Linked DNA regions of Homo sapiens: regions 2, 3, 4 and 5 are each linked to region 1. The links are contacts of gene promoters, found by promoter capture Hi-C in blood cells and fetal thymus (Javierre and others, 2016). All regions are on one chromosome and are shown on one strand. Each heading gives the region's core, a stretch centred on a gene start or on the middle of the fragment in contact. The rest is flanking DNA. Distances are from core to core; before and after follow the strand shown.

Region 1 (3,261 bases), core at 357-2,856:
CTATAGCATTTGGGTAAAGAATACTCAGTCCTCTGCTGTGACAAGAACAAATTCATCACCCACACCATACATTGTAGCTAAGGGCATCATCGTGCCCACATGAATCACCAGGCAGAGACGGCTGCCAACTCTGAAATTCTTTACTCATGGAAGACTCACGTATACTAATGCCGACTATTTACGCAAGCACATTTCTCCAGGTGGCCTGGAGCAGTTTACAAGATGCTGGCTCATTCCTCATCATGCCACTTGGAAGGAGAGCAAAAGGTGGGGAAAGAGGAAGGGCCAACATCATCATCTGCATTTTATGTGGGGAAACTGAGGCTCACATAAGCCGTAAAGTGAAATGTATAGACATTTATGAGTCAGAAATCGACCATGGAAGAGGCAAAATGAGCTTATCTGAATCATGAGTGGACTATTTCTTGCCCAACAATTTCATGCAGCTCTTCCAACACAACTGTTTTGATACAGCAGCCTCAAAACAAGCCAAAATTCAGACTCGCTGTATTTGGTTTATAACCAGTTTCCCATCTTTCATTCCTTCTCTGACTTCTACCTGACTTCTGAATTTGGTTGACCCTGTTTTTTTGTTTGTTTGTTTGTTTTGTTTTACTTTAAAAGACCCTCAACCCTCCTGGAGTCCTGACCTGCTATTTCTTTCATTTTGAACCTCTACCAGTCCTTTCCTTCATCTGTTACCAATCCATACACCCTTGATGCCTGGAGGTAAGATTGACAATGGAGGGGGGGAGGTGAAGATCAAGGTTGAGGTGAAGCTCACAGATGGCCTGCAAGATGCCTATTTTACTCATCATTTATTTTTTAAAAAGCTGAACATTTATCGGCTGAATCTTTGAGCCATACCAAAATATCCTCATGTCAAAATAGCTGCAGTAAAGTGGTTCTATTAAAATAGCTGCCTCCAAAGAACTGAGAGTGGAGATGTCACCTGCTTCTGGCACCTGACTTTGGTCCTCTTCTGCGTGGCATTGCCTTCTGCTCTGCTGGATTCTGGCGTATGGCTCATCAGAGGAGGCACTAACATCAGGGCTGCCTTTTATCTTGCTGATCCAAGCGAGGACTATGTAGGTGTCACAGATGAAACTCGTCCAGAAGCCGAACAGGATGCTAATGGCATGGCCACGTGTTTCCAGCACCCTGTGAGGCAGCTGGCTGGCATCAATCCTCTCCCCAGCTTCCATCCCACCCCCATCCACCCATAAGCTCTTCTTGGGTCAGAAATGCAATTCTTTGATGGTGCCAGACAGCCAGATGATGCTGGAAAGAAGAAAGAAAAAGAAAAAGCAGGTTTCTAAATTAAGCACAAGGCTCGTTTATAAAAATAAATAGCCACAGCCTAGCAACGTGCTCACAGCTCAGCTTTCCTCCGTAATAAAACCTCTGTGGCTGAAGCCTGGGATGACACAGCCTTCAGAGGGCCCCACGCCCTGGCCCTCCTCATGCCCTGGCCTCTCCCAGGATAATACTCACCTGGAGAGTGCTGACAGTGGTACTTTTGGGGCCCCACTCTTCATTCAAGGCCAACCAAAGGCCAGGCTCCAAAAAGCAGAAGGAAGGCAGAGCTTAATGAGGCCCATGAACACTTACAGACTCTTGGCAGTAACTAATACACCTGTAGCAAAAGTGGTTGAAGTTCCTTGGGCTACTCTGTTGAAATAGGAACTTCTAGTTAAGACCATGTCTTCTTTGTTCACCATTGAACAGTACTCAGCTAAGCACAGGGCACGTATTGAGTACTCAACCAGTATGTGAGGAAAGACTGGTTAGAGGTATAAATGAATGAATGAATGTTGCCATCCCATTATTGATGCTCTCCAAACTCTTCACTACAAATGGAGTCAGTTCCAGAATCCAAAGCCAGCATTCTTCTCCTGATTATGACATGCACCAAAGAGGCATCCCCTGAGCTGGATGTTTAAATCAGAGCCCACAGCTGAAGTGAGCACCAAGATGTACTGAGCAAGTGTGGACTCTTACTGATCCAAGTGGTGAGGCTCTTACAATGGGCAAGGGCAGAGGGCATGCGATATGTAGGTAACTATTGTTAGCATTCCTGAATCTTCTCCTGTTCTTTAGGCAGCAGCAGCTTCAAGGGTGAACTGTTGCTCAGCAGAGAAATGGCAGGAAAAAATAGGACATTCGCTTCTGGCCTTAGTCCTGTTGGAACACAAAAAGTGGAGTCTGCAATGCTGTTGGAGGCTCAACAGGTCAAATACATCAGTAATGGGCATGGTATGGCTGGGGTCATACGGAGACAGTCCTTAGAGCACTGAAAATGTGATCATCCTGAATCCCATAAGGATCCTTATGAGGTTAGAAGGGACAATGTGGCTCCACTTTGATGACTGACAGCAGTTGCTTTGGTGAGTTTCTACGTATTCCCTTGTGATCAGAGAGTGGTACAGGACAGCATGTCAAAATCGTAAACCACCATCTCAGAGCAAGGCCCCTTAGTTACAATATTAAAAAGATCAGAGAAATTGGCACATAGCATCATTTAGAAATCTGTCTTCAGGCATCTTTGTCTGGCCTGGCTGGAAATAGTAAAACCATATTTATGTCATTGAGAAAAAGGTTCTTAATTAAATTCAAATGTATAAGAATATATCGTAGGTCTATTTTTGGAACAATAATCTGGGAACAAAAAAAAATCTAAACAGCAACAAAACTTGTACAATAGCATTTAGCTTCAGACAGCAGCATACAATAGAGAAGAAGGAGTCCTCATAGACTCTGGACTCTTAGATTGATTCAATCCCACAAGCTAGAGCACCAAAGTCATGGCACTGGGACATTTAGGAAGAGGAACTCTAGCAGTGACCTGATTAGGAGACAGCTCCAGCAGAGAGTCAGCACATAGACTGGCCAAGCTGCCCCCAGATCTTTGGTGATATCTCTTTGGTGGAGATAAAGGAAGCCCTTTCCAAAGCAGACCAATTATGGCATCCACAACCATAGTCCCTGCTCCAGCCTAGTGAGGACACAGTATGTTCCATAAGTCCCTAAGGCTCTATGCCCAGGGCTCCCACTTCTGACACGGCTGCTCAAGGATAAGACCCCACTGACCCCATTCTCTATGGAGGGTACAGAAATCCATAAGAACAGAGCCCAATACTCAGCTCTGTGACCTTAACTACTTGGAAACTGATTTTCTTTGTTCATAAAATAGAGAGAGTAAAAATAATGCTTTCTATCTCCCAAGAGTGTACGAGGATCAAATGAAACACTATTATGTTC
Region 2 (3,261 bases), core at 762-3,261, 310 kb after region 1:
CTTCATACTTTACCATAAATTTTCTAATTTTAAAAAATGTGCTTATTTGAAAAAATATTAATCAAGATAAAGTTATTTTAAAATATTAAATACTCATGCTGACATTAGCTAAAATGCACTGAAATTTGTTTGAAATGAAATTATTTCTCAGGTCAAAACTAAATTATCTCTTCCAACATAAGATGTGGAAATGCAATTGTGTAGCACTTGGATCTCTTGATAAACTCTTACCATCACACTTTCCTTTCTGACAGTTAAATAGCCGGAATGTTAAATAAATAGAACTGCAAAACTTACTAGATAGCATTGCTTGATCAATTTTTAACTACAAGTAGAGATTAAGTATGGTAAATTTCTATATCTTTACTAAACTTATAATTTTTAGATTGTTCAGACTCTTCAATGAACCTAAATAGACTTAAGTTTCTTAACATCATATTGACGTATAAGAGAATAGTTCTAAAACAGTGAATTAAAATACAGAACCACTGGCAGTTTCAGAGCATCATCTACAATAATTACTTTTAGAAAATTGTTAAGTGATGACTAAGTCTCCTTTGACAAATAAAATATTGAAAGCTTATCCTGTGAAAATATAAACTACCAATTACAGGAGTCCTCCCTTATCTGTGGTTTCACTTTCCATAATTTTAGTTACCTATACTCCAAAAATATTAAGTGGAAAATTCCAGAAATAAGTCATAAATGTTAAATTATGTGCTGAAATCCTCCCTTTGTCCAGCAGATCCACATTGTATACACTACTTGCCCATTAGTCACCCAGTAACTGTCTCAGTTATCAGATCCACTGTCAGCGTGTCAAAGTGATTGGAGGATTCAAGTAACCCTTATTTTACTTCATAGCCCCAAAGTGCAAGAGTAGTAATGCTGGCATATTGTTATAATTGTTCTATTACTGTTGTTGTTAATCTCTTACTGTGCCTAATTTATAAATTAAGCTTTATCAGAGGTATGTATGTATAGGGAAAAAACATACTGAATATTGGTTTTGATCCTATCCTCAGTTGCAGGCATCCATGGGGAGTCTTAGAATGTGACCCCTGGAATAAAGAGGGGTCACAAATGCAAAGATAAACTGTGGCATTTTTCTGTTATACAGCATCCTTTGAATTCTTCTATTTAACAAATACTGGTCATCTCTTTTGTCTCACAACTTGAGAACTGTTCCTTTTTTTTCATATGAGACAGCATGTTTTACTTTGCACACTGGTATCAATCCTTCAGACACTCTCAACCATTGACATATCTGATTTCTGTCTCCCCTCTCACCCACTCACTCACTCAACAAACATATGAGGACCTGCTATGTGTACCAGGTCCCTAAAACGGAAACATGAAAAAGCATAGTCCTCGCCTGTAACCCCAATATTGTGGGAGGCTGAGGTGGGCAGATCACTTGAGTCCGGGAATTTGAGACCACCCTGGACAAAATGGTGAAACCCTGGCTATACAATTAACCGGTTGTGGTGGCATGTGCCTGTAGACCCAGCTACCCTGGAGGCTGAGGTGGGAGGACTGCCTTTGCCTGAGCCTGGGAGGTTGAGACTGCAGTGAGCCATGACCTAATCTTCAAGGAAAGGCAATTTTCTTTGTTTTGAGGTATATATTTTTGAACATTCCTTCTATCCCTCAAATTCTTCTCAAAATAAGCTCCACATCTAATTGTACAACTGCAGTAGTCCATTTTCATGCTGTGGATAAAGACCTGAGATTGGGCAATTTAAAAAAGAAAGAGATTTACTTGGACTTGCAGTTCCACGTGGCCAGGGAAGCCCAATTATGACGGAAGGCAAGGAAGAGCAAGTCACGTCTTACATAGATGGCAGTAGGCAAAGAGAGAGAGCTTGTGCAGGGGAATTCCTCTTTTTAAAACGGAATTGCAGACCCAATGTACATCTTTTATTCAAACTGATTAATGCATTTTTAGATTTAAAATATTAAATTTATTAAATAATATTAAATCTACCAATCACTCAAGTATTTTACATTCATTTAAAACTATACAACTGGAGGCCAGGCACAACGGCACAGGCCTGTAATCCCAGCACGTTGGGAGGCCAACGCAGGTGGATCACTTGAGGTCAGGAGTTTGAGACCAGCCTGAGCAACATGGTGAAAACCCATCTCTACAAAAAATACAAAAATTAGCTGGGCATGGTGGCACACACCTGTAGTCCCAGCTACTTGGAAGGCTGAGGCAGGAGGATCTCTTGAGCCCAGGAGGTCGAGGTTGCAGTGAACCAAGATCATGCCACTGGACTCCAGCCTGGGCGACAGAGCAAGACCCCTGACTCTAAAAATAAAAAATAAATAAATAAATAAAAATAAAACTGTACAATTGGATGAGTACTTTTGTCAGCATGCAAATCAGTTTAAGTTATACAAACAGTAGAAGCAGTATATATGTGTGTGTGTGTGTGTGTGTATATATTTAGCATAGATGTATATATTTTTAAATTAAGCTAGTCAGGCCAGCTTTATTAAGCATTCACAAAAATCCACATTTCAAAAGAACCATGCAACTGATGGTTTACATATAATTTGAGGACCTCTATTCCTAAGACAAACTAAAGTACAGCTAACATCATCTTTAATTATAGACTAATTAAGCTAATGTTTTCTGATAGAAAGGCTCAATATAATACTCAATCTTTTACAATTTTAAGCCAATTTGTAATGGCTTCAACTGAGGAGTCCAACAAATTAAAAAGCTGTTATGCAACTAAATGTTTAAAGATCTTAAGCTAAAAAAGGACTATACAATTCATCTCAGTTAACCAGTAAAAAATTTCTATCATGATCTCCAAATAATCCTCCAAGTGATTTTTAAAATAGCTTTAAAATTTTTCCAGCTGGGAAAAACAAAGCAAAGAACTAAAATGGCTGAACTGAACCTTATTTCACCCTCCAAGCTGAGTATTTAGAAACCAACTGCTTTTCAAGGTACTAGGCAGGACTTAGGACAACTGAGAGACAATTCCTTCCACAATTATTTGAATTACAGTGAGGTACTCACAGCAGGATTATCACTAGACTATAGGAAAAGCTTCACGCTACAGACTATGGTGGCTTTCTTGGGCCTCTCTTCCCACCCAGGCCCAACTGACACTCCTGGTGGACAAACAAGTGCTTCAGGAAGTAGTCCCAAAATTCCATCTGTCCCCTAAGGCAGTTTCTACTTAAAGGGGCAGTGGTCCAATTTATTTATGATGACTCATTACTTCAAAGAGAACAAAAATA
Region 3 (3,261 bases), core at 401-2,900, 290 kb after region 1:
CAACTGCGTCCTTTGAGAAAGCTCATGTGGATGGCAGCCTCACGAAATGAGCCAATGGACAGTCCGTTAGACAGAAACAGACAGACGGCAGCTGCAACCGTGACAGAAGCGGGACACTGCAACAGTCAGCACAGAGACTCTGCCCCTCGGTTCTTCCTTCCCACCTCCATGCTAGCGCACTGCTACTGCCAAGAGGGAGGGACGCGTGTGAGAGCCAAAAACAGCCTCCACTCCAAGGCGCCAGTAACAGACTGGGTTCTTTTTTTCCTTTTCAGGGAAAGAGTGGGCAGAGAAGAGAGAGCTTTGATTCTGACATGAGAGTCAAATTTCAAAATGCAAAGAACGAAGTGTTTAAAAAATGGTAAGTGACTGTTTAAATGACCAAAATTAACTGGAAAGCGATGGAAATGGGTCGACATGCTAGTAAGGAAGCCTGCTACCAGAGTGAAAGGGTGATTCAACTGAGCACAATTAATAGCAGTTATTAGGAGAAATAAAAACAAACCATGACATGCATATTTCTCACCAATGAATTGAGACTTTAAGCAAATGGCTCTGGAGGGGATCCAGAAGAATGCGGCATGAAGCCACACGCTGAGGATCAACTGTGAGATGAGGCCATATCATGTCAGGGGCTGAGCAGACCCCAGTGAGCTATAGGGGGCACAGCCCCTTACCTGTGGGGCTGTTGGGGCCACTGCATGCCCGTATCTATCCCACCGATCACCAATAGGACATCCGCCATGGCTGACCGAGGAGAGGACTGCAAACTCACCAAGGGCTCCCTGGCAAGGACACCCCTGTCCTTTCCCACTTTTGCGCTCCCAGCCCCACATCAGGGACTTGTTCAGTCAGGAAAGCAGGCAGGGGACAGATATAGATGGAAACAATCCAGGTCCTCTCATGTCAATTCCAAATTGCTAGAGACACAAGCTTAGTCCGACTTGACAGAAGAGGAGAACTTTGAACAAAACACGATATAAAGCTATCAAATAACAGAACTAAGCCTTAAGAACCCAAATGAGGTTAAGTAACGAGAAGTAACTAACAAGTCATGGAACTAAATAAAGTGAGATGTTGTAAGGCAACCCCAATGTATAGCAAAAAGGAGTGGCAGAGTTGGTGGCAACTACTCGAAAAAGGAAACTGCCGCACACTCATACCCCAGTTAATCTTTACTACTCTGAGGCGGTAGGTACCATTCTTTTCTTCATTTTAAAGTTAAAAAGTCTGCTTGAAGTTTATGGCCTCCTCTGTGCCCGCCCACCTGCCTAATGTGTGGATGACACCCTACAGTGGGCACGAGGGTGAGGGCAATCATATTTGCCAGTGCTCCCAGAGCCCGAGCACAGGGAGCCTGGGCCTCTGCGCCTCACAGGGCCCCATGCCACCACTGTCCTCATGGCCTGGCTGGGCTACTCATGGGGAAGGGTGAGTATGTCTTACAAAGTAACTTGGCTACACTCTAGGGACGTCTGCTTGCCTTCTGACAGCCTGGTGATGCCCCCCCAGTACCGCCAGCTGCTGAGTGACCATGGGCCACTATCCATAGGCTACACCCAGGGAGCTGGGAACAGCCAGGAGCCCCAGTGAAGAGTTGGGGAGAGATCAACCCTGCCTACGTGGAGTAAGAACAGAATAAAGAGACTAAATCGAGGCATTATTCACTCTAGAAAGCTGGTAAGGTAAGTGCTTGGCTAAAACCGAACAGAGTGCCATATCCTTGCTGCTTTTGGCTTTAAAGGTTTTCCATCTTTTTACAAGATGAGAAGTTACAGTTCACCTCCCCTGTTTCGATGAAACTCTTGTTTTCAAAATGCTAACAGGTTGGTTTTTCCTCCCATGTTTCACCTGGCTCTGAACTACAGTCTCACAGATTGAAAAAAGATTTTGCAGTTAATTAGAATTTACATTTTCAGTAGTTAGGAATTACCCAAGTTATTTTTTAAGCATTGATTTAAAAGGTGCATGTAAAGTTATCTCAGCAAACTAGTTTGCCTCTAAGATACCAGTGTCTCCCTTTAACCTTCTCCTTTGAATATGTTTCTGTGCCCCAAACTGTTCTGTTAAGCTAATACAACCATAAGGATTTTGTTTCAATGCATACTAACAGCGCACTTAGTAGCCACTCCTCGTTTCTGCTTAATATAACTTTTTTGCATAAACATATGCATGACTATTAGTGCACTGAAGTCAATTTTTAAAATGCACAAGTTATAAATACAGCAGAATAACCTACCAAACTTAACAAGGAACACCCAAAATTTTCAAACTATCAGTAGATTTCGGTTATGCATACTTTAAGTTGATCAAAACTGGAAGAAAATAACTGTTTATATCTTTATATGTATTTATTACTTGATGCAATAAAGCTTATTTTCATTAACACAAACAAATCTGATAGTGGTCAGACAACTTACCCAAGGAGACATATGTTTAACAAATGGCAGAGCCAAGATCCAAACTCAAGTCAGTCGGCTTTGGTACAGGGCATGACTCAATAATCTAGCAGAACCAAAAAGTGGGCTATTTCTAGACACCCCAGAAATACGCAGTTCAATTAATTTAGTAAAAAACTGACACCTGTCCTTAAAATAGTAAATGTTACTTCTAGTCATCATGGCTAGACACCTTCAGACAATTTATATCTAAAATATACAGATTTATCAGAGTATTACACGTATGTTTCTAATAAGAAATGCTCCTAATTGAAGATGCTTCAATTTTACTTAATGATTTTGCATTGGTTTGAAGGTAAAGTTAAAACATAAAGGATTAATTTAGTCTGGTGTAGAGGGAATGAATTCCTTTGTTTCATTACCCAAATTAAATACTACATATATTTAAAAATTCAGTTGCATTATTTTGAATAAAACAAGATGTTTTACAAAGGCCATTAAAATGATGTTGGTGACAAAGCATAAGTTCCATCACCTATTACGTAACCCAAGTTAGGGTAATGCTGCACAAACACATAAAACTGAATACCTCAAATACATATTGCTAGTAAAAACAGAGTTAATTCTAAAAAAACTTTGGCTTTAATACATTAGATTGGGGGAGGGGGACAGCAGGGGAAGACCAGTTATGTTATATGAAGAGATTTTCTTTAAAACCAAGTTTCTTACCTAATCAGGATAACTAAATTAAATGAGTGATTAACCTGTTTTAACACTGAGGTATGCTTGGAACAGAAAGTATTTTTTTAATGAAGTATTTACATTATGTAAACATATATAACAACATCTATGTAAGTTAGGA
Region 4 (3,261 bases), core at 762-3,261, 270 kb after region 1:
ATTATTTCTTTGATACAGAAAAAAACGGTGTGTTTCTATCTGTATTCTAAAGGACATTATTCCCATGTGTGTTTTCACAGTAAAGTTTAAACAGTCACTACTATTACCAAATACTAAATCAAAAGCTATTAGAAAATAAAGCTGCCACACCTTTATCCCTATGAAAAATACAAAATTAAATATATAAACAAACATAAACAAGCAGATGAATGACTCAGAAATAATAGTAATGGTTAACACTCCTTGAACCCACCTCACTCTGAACTGTCTCTGTGCTGACAGCTTCCCAGCATCAGCCTCCCAAAACCCCTATGGAGATAGCATGTCCCCATTTTAAGCATGAGGAAACAGAGAACAACAAGGAACTTGCCTGAGGTCACTTAGCTAGTAACTAGCAGAGGAGCTAGGATTAAAACCAAATTAATTTTAGCCATTAAGTTAAATGAATAAACAAAAACAGTGCACGCACACACACACACACACACCCTCCCACCAAAAGTTCGAAGAATAAAATAAAGTCATTATCAGATGCAGAGGACTGTAGCATCTGTGGCAAGACAGGATCTTTGTGACCTGATCCAATCCTTATTTCACAGGTGAGAACTCAGGTCTGAAGGATTCCATTCCTGGTCCAAAGGTCAAACAGCTGATGACTGCAGGGCCAGGCCTAGCAGCCAGAAGCCTGCCTCTCAGCTCAGGGTCCTCCCACACACCAGTGCAGGAACCTATGGCACTGTCTGCTTCCAAGTTCTATCGGTGGGCACAGATCTCCACTTGCAGGCAATGTTACCTAAGAGGGAGAGGAAACTTGATTTTCTCTGCCTCCATTTCTAAAAATCGTAATGCCACAATTGCTGCCTGAATGGATTTGAAGTTGACATCTAAAAGCAGTCATGTTGTCAGCCCCTGGTAGTTTCAACTACTTATTTTACACAAAGCAAGAGCAGAGTAGTGTCTATATAGATTAATTTTCATTCCTAATTTTAGTTATAATTAACTTTTATACATTTCTTGTATAAATTTAAAGCTGTTCTGGCATTGCATATTTATTCCATAATGAAAAATAAAAGTTCTCTTTTAAAGTATGCAAAAAATGCACACAATTACTGAAATATGAACACTGTTCATTTGAAATACAAAGTAGACGTTCATTCAAATCCATGTAAAATTCCTACTTCTCCTTCATTGAACGGGGGTTTCTCCTGCTGCAACTGATGTCATGAACACTCAGTGCTGGTACAGCATGCCATTCCCCTTAAAAATCTTTCCTTCTCCACAGAACATAAGTGCAACATAATCAGTTATATAATAACCCACAGGCCAATAAGACCTACACTCAGGTCTATAAGCAAGTAGCAAAATGCCTTTTTAAATTACCTTAAATATGTTTAAATATAAGTCAATCATCTCAAGTATGTTTAGTAATTACTAAAATGAGGAACATGTATGGAAAGACATCTTTTAATAATTCATTCTTATTTCACAAATATTCAGCTGCCAAAATTTCATGAGTCTCACATTTTTAATAAAAAGACCCAAAGTTCCATTAAATAATGGAGAAAAAAACTTCTCCACCATCTTAATACACTGACATGAGATTTTTCAAATTTTCCACGATTACCACCTATGGTATTTTAAAGATCTTCATTAAAAACATAAAAAATGAAATGGCTAGGGATTTCTATTCACTATAGTTTTTTCAAGGAAATGTAATTACTACGTAAGTATTCCTTTATTAAATTTGAAGTTATATAACCAACAAGCCAATATGAAAGATTTTTCTTTACGTCCTTTTCAAATTCCCCCAAAATATCTTTATGACAACTGCTATCAGCCTATGGCAGTGAGCCATCCATCATTTCAACAGGATGCCCGTGTCACCACTTTATAACACATGCACGCTATCGAACAATTCTTTTTAGGGATCTTGGATGTCCCATTCACCTCTCAATCTCCCACCAGCTCTAGATGAGAGAAATGAATGATTCAGAAAGTTTGTCCTTGTTCTGCAAGGACTTAAGACAAGCCTTAGAACTTGGGATTGGTCCAATTCCTACTGGGCAGGGGGCCACTGCTGAGGCCCTAGGTTGATAGATTACAGAGCCGGTAAACCCACCCCATTCACTTGCTCGCTCACGTTACTCCTACTGCAGAGTGGGATCCCTCAGGCTCACTCCTCAGGTGCCAGGGGCCAATCTGCCTCAGGATTCCTTCGTGGTTTTAATTTTGGCCTGTTTTATAGTCATGCAGAATCAACTGCAAGGACATCCTTGCTCATCTGGTCCCACCTCAAATCATCTTTTGCTTAGACAAAACGAATTATCCCAGGAGCTAGAAACTCATCCTACACTAGGAGAAACATCCCAACCCAGGGTGACAGGGTTCTTAAAGTGGAAATCAGCTTCTCCAACTTCCGTCTTTTGATCCTAGATCTGCTTATTCCAATTATACACAGAATAAGGCTCCTTCTTCCTCTCAGTTCAGTAAAAAATTAAGATTTTCAAGGACTCCTAGAATTTTAAAGCCAAAGGGGAATGTAAGAGATCATCTCTTTCAAACCCCTACATCCGTCCAGGAGTGAAGCAACCTGTCCAAGTCACACAGTAGTTAGAATTGAGCTGGACTCCTCCACTGTCTCTTCTCTTACCTGCTGAACAACTCAATGTGTCAATTTCCTTTTACTTCATGCAGTCAAATCACGCCCCTACTTTTCCAATCATTCCACTGCCCTTCAGGATTTTACTAGTCAAATTGTTAACTTTACCTGGAAACAGTTGTGGAAATGACTGCCATTATGTTAACAGGGTCATATGAAAAACACTTGTTTATCAACATTTATATGCTTTATTGAAAGTTGACAAGTGCAACAGTTAAATACAGTGACACCTTACAATTGTGTAGAGAACATGCACAGAAACATATGCATATAACTACTATACAGGTGATATGCAGAAACCCCTACTGGGAAATCCATTTCATTAGTTAGAACTGAGCATTTTTCAAAGTATTCAACCAGCTCAATTGAAAGACTTCAGTGAACAAGGATTTACTTCAGCGTATTCAGCAGCTAGATTTCAGATTACACAAAGTGAGTAACTGTGCCAAATTCTTAAAATTTCTTTAGGTGTGGTTTTTGTCATGTAGCAGTTTTTATGTAGATCTATATATAAAAGTCCACACCTCCTCAGACAGCCAATGAAACAACTAAATTTCAATCTGTACAACCTAAATAGTAGTTACAGTCCTCTATTGTACAAAATA
Region 5 (3,261 bases), core at 489-2,988, 260 kb before region 1:
ATAATAAAAAAGGCATGGATGACACAAATGTGGCGAAAGTCTTTAATTGTTGAATCTGAGTGATGAGCATCTGGAGCTTCATTATACTGTTTTCCATACTTTTCTGTATGTTTGTAACTTGGTCATAATTTTTAAAAAATTAAACATAATAATATCTAAAGTAATATCTCTGTTTTTGAAAAAGTAAATATACATGTCAGTTTTCTTTGTTAAAGCAGAAGACAAACATTGTCAATCCCCTACTCTTCTATGTGCATGAGTTGGAGGAGAAAACAAAAGCCTGTGACTGTTGGATTCTTATTTGAACAAAGAATATGAAGCCTAGGCAATATAGCGAGACCCCAACTTTACCACAAAAAAAAAAAAAAAAAGCCTAGCATGGTGGCACATGCCTGTAGTCCCAGCTACTTGAGAGGCTGAGCTGGGAGGATTGCTTCAGTTCAGGAGGTCGAGGCTGTAGTGAGCCATGATTGCACCACTGCACTCCAGCCTGGGAACAGAGTGAGATGCTGCACCCCTCCCCTGCCCCCCAAAAAGGAATATGGGAGTCATATGCCATATATATTAACATGGAAAACAAACAGTTCATATACAGGAGGTCCATAATTTGCAAAATACAGACAGTAATGACTTAACACTTTTCTACTAGAACTGCTAAACAACAACTATTTAAAAGAAGGAGTTTACTCTTAGATTTTCCGTTATATTAAATGGAATCTGGTTGGCATGATGATTCCTTTAATGAAAAACTACATAGTTTCCATCCACTGGCATAAGAGTGGAATAGAAATGTATAGCTAAATAACAGTTTATGGTCCATACTTGCAATATCATAGTCCATTTTGGGAAGTAACACCTAAACAAGTTCAGAGGAAAGCAATACTAATGGTGAGAGATCCCAAAGCCATATATGATCATGGAGGAATGGTCTCAAAGGGATTAGAAATGATTAGCATGGAGAAAATAAATCTCAGTGGCATAACATAGCACACTGCAGGTGTCTGACATACAAAATACCAAAGAGATTGGAAAACACAGAACCAATTAGTGGAAATTATAGGAAGGCTGATTTTGGCTTTGTATGAATGTTAGGAAAAACAATTGCCAATAGGCCTTAAACCTCCCAGAGCATTTTTTCCTGGGCATACCAAGAATGCAAAGCTTTGACCTTTTTTTAATGCCACCATTTTTCAAGATTGTGTTTGCAGAAAGCAACCTTAAGGGATAAGTTTAGGTCCCACTTTGGGAAAAAGAGCCACCTTACTTTCTGCTTATTATAAAAGCAGTGGATTCCCCAAGCTCAGTATTCCTAAGACACAAATCCACTATATGCACGAGATATACCTGGACCCTTCTATGGTGCCTCCATGGGACATAAGGAGAACTTACTCAAATATGATGTTCATGCTGCTTGCTAAGCATGAATAATGAAGTCTTCTATCTCATGTCTTCCGCCAACATTTAAGAAACAGTGATAGGCTAATTTATTAACTTGTAAGTATGGTGAGGTCAAGAAATCTCATACCCAACAATGGAGAACACATTAGTTAGCAGATTTCCTATCCAGAAGTGTTCACATGTGGATGTGTAAACTTCTTGGAGAAGATGATGTATAAACGTAGCAAAAAATAAAGTTTCAGACAAGTAGTTTTTCTTAGACTTTCAATGTTATTTCAGTTCCGTAAATTGTATTATTCCTTTTTAGGAAACACAAATATAATTGGACTTATCTACAGAATACCAGGACTCCCTAGGAAGTCTCTACATAAATATGGTCTCAATATTCATTTAAATGACCCAAATTCCATCCATTGTCTGCGTGTATTTCCACTCTAGTAAACCTTTAGTAGCTTTCAGATAAAGGGAAATCCAAGATTATTATGCCAAAAGTGTAATTCTCTTAGACTTCATGCCAGAGTTCTTAGCATCCAAGGCAGTCAAGATTACCATATCCAAGGTATATACTACCAATATGACTTAGTATTGTTGATCATATGACTGAGGCAGTGTTTGCCAAATTTTTCCACTGTCTAGTCTCTGCTATGACATCCCTCTTCCTTCCTTACTAGAAGTTGAGTATCTCTGATTCATCTTATTGGAAATTCACTGACATTAGTTTTATTAATATTAATAAGAAGTTAGTATCTATAGTGTTGGTAAGCACACATAATATTTTTCTCCCATTGCCAAAAGCCTCTGGTAATATTTATCAGAATACTTTGAAAATGTGTATTAAAGTCTAGTCTAGAATTTTGAATGAGTGGTGTAATTCAGTTTGGGATTACATAGGATCTATGGCCTTCACTGAATGCAAGCAAAGCTTTAACACTAGCATCATAGTCAAAACCTCTTTGTCCTCTTCGTTCGCAAATGCTTTGTGCATCACACAGATATATCCACTGGGTGGCAGTATGTACTCAAGAATATTTACTGTTTCTAGTTGCCTCAATCTAACGGAATTTAAAGATGTCAAACTTTTTTTATCTGGAAAATAGCCATTGTAGTGAATCTTAAGAAACAGTATTGTCTGAATGCAAGCTCCTCCCTAGAGATGATTATGGAGATTATAATAATGTTAATATTATATACTTCCTACCATTTACTCTCAATCATATTCTTTCTTCTGCCAACAATACTCTTAGCATGAGAACTGGTAAATACCTATTATCCTACCTCTTATTTCTGTAACCTATCTCTTAGTTCTAAGGAACTTGCCTGGTGATAGACTTTTCCCTTTCTCCATTTTGTTTCTTAAATATCATACCCTCTCCACAGTGAAATCAAGAGATAGACCTTTAAGCTTCTGTATAGTACCATATGTACCCCTTTAGTTCTGCACTACCTCCTAGACAAATAGAGCAGATTCTAGATATTCACATAGTCTTGCAAAGTCATATGGTTCTCTTTCACTTAAATTAATTCTGTCTGAAATGCAGAATGGCACCAATTAACTTGCTCTACGTAAGATTGTCTTCAATGAAGAGAGGGAAAACCTTCCAAGAAATTAAATTGTGTAATCAGGTAGGACTACAACTATGAGAAGAAATCACAAAAATAAACATATTTTAAAAACTGAAAATAAAATACTAACTTAGTTGTGTTAGATGGTGAAATTATGAAAGCTTTTGTTTCCTTTTTCTGCATTTGTGTAGTTTTTCCTATATTTTCTTTAATGAACTATACTTTTTTCAAATAAAAAATATATAACTGCTCTTAAGCCATCTTTTATCTTCCTCCTGCCTCAAAGGAAAGATTCTTGCT

What was found. Contacts are between HindIII fragments. The CHiCAGO score rates a contact against its expected background, and 5 or more counts as called.
Region 2: a fragment that was not itself captured here is called in contact with the fragment with the promoter of SMIM2 in region 1 in 1 of 17 cell types (M2 macrophages); the score reaches 6.3 in M2 macrophages.
Region 3: a contact is called between a fragment that was not itself captured here and the fragment with the promoter of SMIM2 in region 1, in 7 of 17 cell types (erythroblasts, M2 macrophages, endothelial precursors and 4 more). The highest score is 9.9, in erythroblasts.
Region 4: a fragment that was not itself captured here is called in contact with the fragment with the promoter of SMIM2 in region 1 in 12 of 17 cell types (M0 macrophages, M2 macrophages, M1 macrophages and 9 more); the score reaches 9.2 in M0 macrophages.
Region 5: a fragment that was not itself captured here is called in contact with the fragment with the promoter of SMIM2 in region 1 in 3 of 17 cell types (M2 macrophages, M1 macrophages and erythroblasts); the score reaches 5.8 in M2 macrophages.

What each region holds. Positions count from the first base shown.
Region 1 is chr13:44,159,651-44,162,911 of GRCh38, forward strand. SMIM2 (small integral membrane protein 2) reads right to left here and starts at 1,607. Exons shown (of 3, transcript NR_197392.1): 1 at 1,495-1,607; 2 at 953-1,281. RefSeq lists an enhancer at 1-738. The HindIII fragment of the contact is 6,510 bases long and covers 1-3,261 here.
Region 2 is chr13:44,471,181-44,474,441 of GRCh38, forward strand. All of the region lies in intron 1 of TSC22D1 (TSC22 domain family member 1), which reads right to left. Among named protein-coding and RNA genes, the nearest start is that of TUSC8, 67 kb to the left of the region's middle. The HindIII fragment of the contact is 2,108 bases long and covers 958-3,065 here.
Region 3 is chr13:44,451,143-44,454,403 of GRCh38, forward strand. All of the region lies in intron 1 of TSC22D1 (TSC22 domain family member 1), which reads right to left. LOC124903167 (a long non-coding RNA gene) reads left to right here. Exons shown (of 4, transcript XR_007063778.1): 2 at 276-361; 3 at 1,494-1,685. Among named protein-coding and RNA genes, the nearest start is that of TUSC8, 47 kb to the left of the region's middle. RefSeq lists enhancers at 873-1,374, 1,375-1,874. The HindIII fragment of the contact is 1,439 bases long and covers 932-2,370 here.
Region 4 is chr13:44,430,698-44,433,958 of GRCh38, forward strand. It overlaps TSC22D1 (TSC22 domain family member 1), which reads right to left. Exons shown (of 3, transcript NM_183422.4): 3 at 1,446-3,261. Among named protein-coding and RNA genes, the nearest start is that of TUSC8, 26 kb to the left of the region's middle. The HindIII fragment of the contact is 4,737 bases long and covers 1-3,261 here.
Region 5 is chr13:43,903,232-43,906,492 of GRCh38, forward strand. No RefSeq gene overlaps it. Among named protein-coding and RNA genes, the nearest start is that of LACC1, 25 kb to the left of the region's middle. The HindIII fragment of the contact is 1,159 bases long and covers 1,160-2,318 here.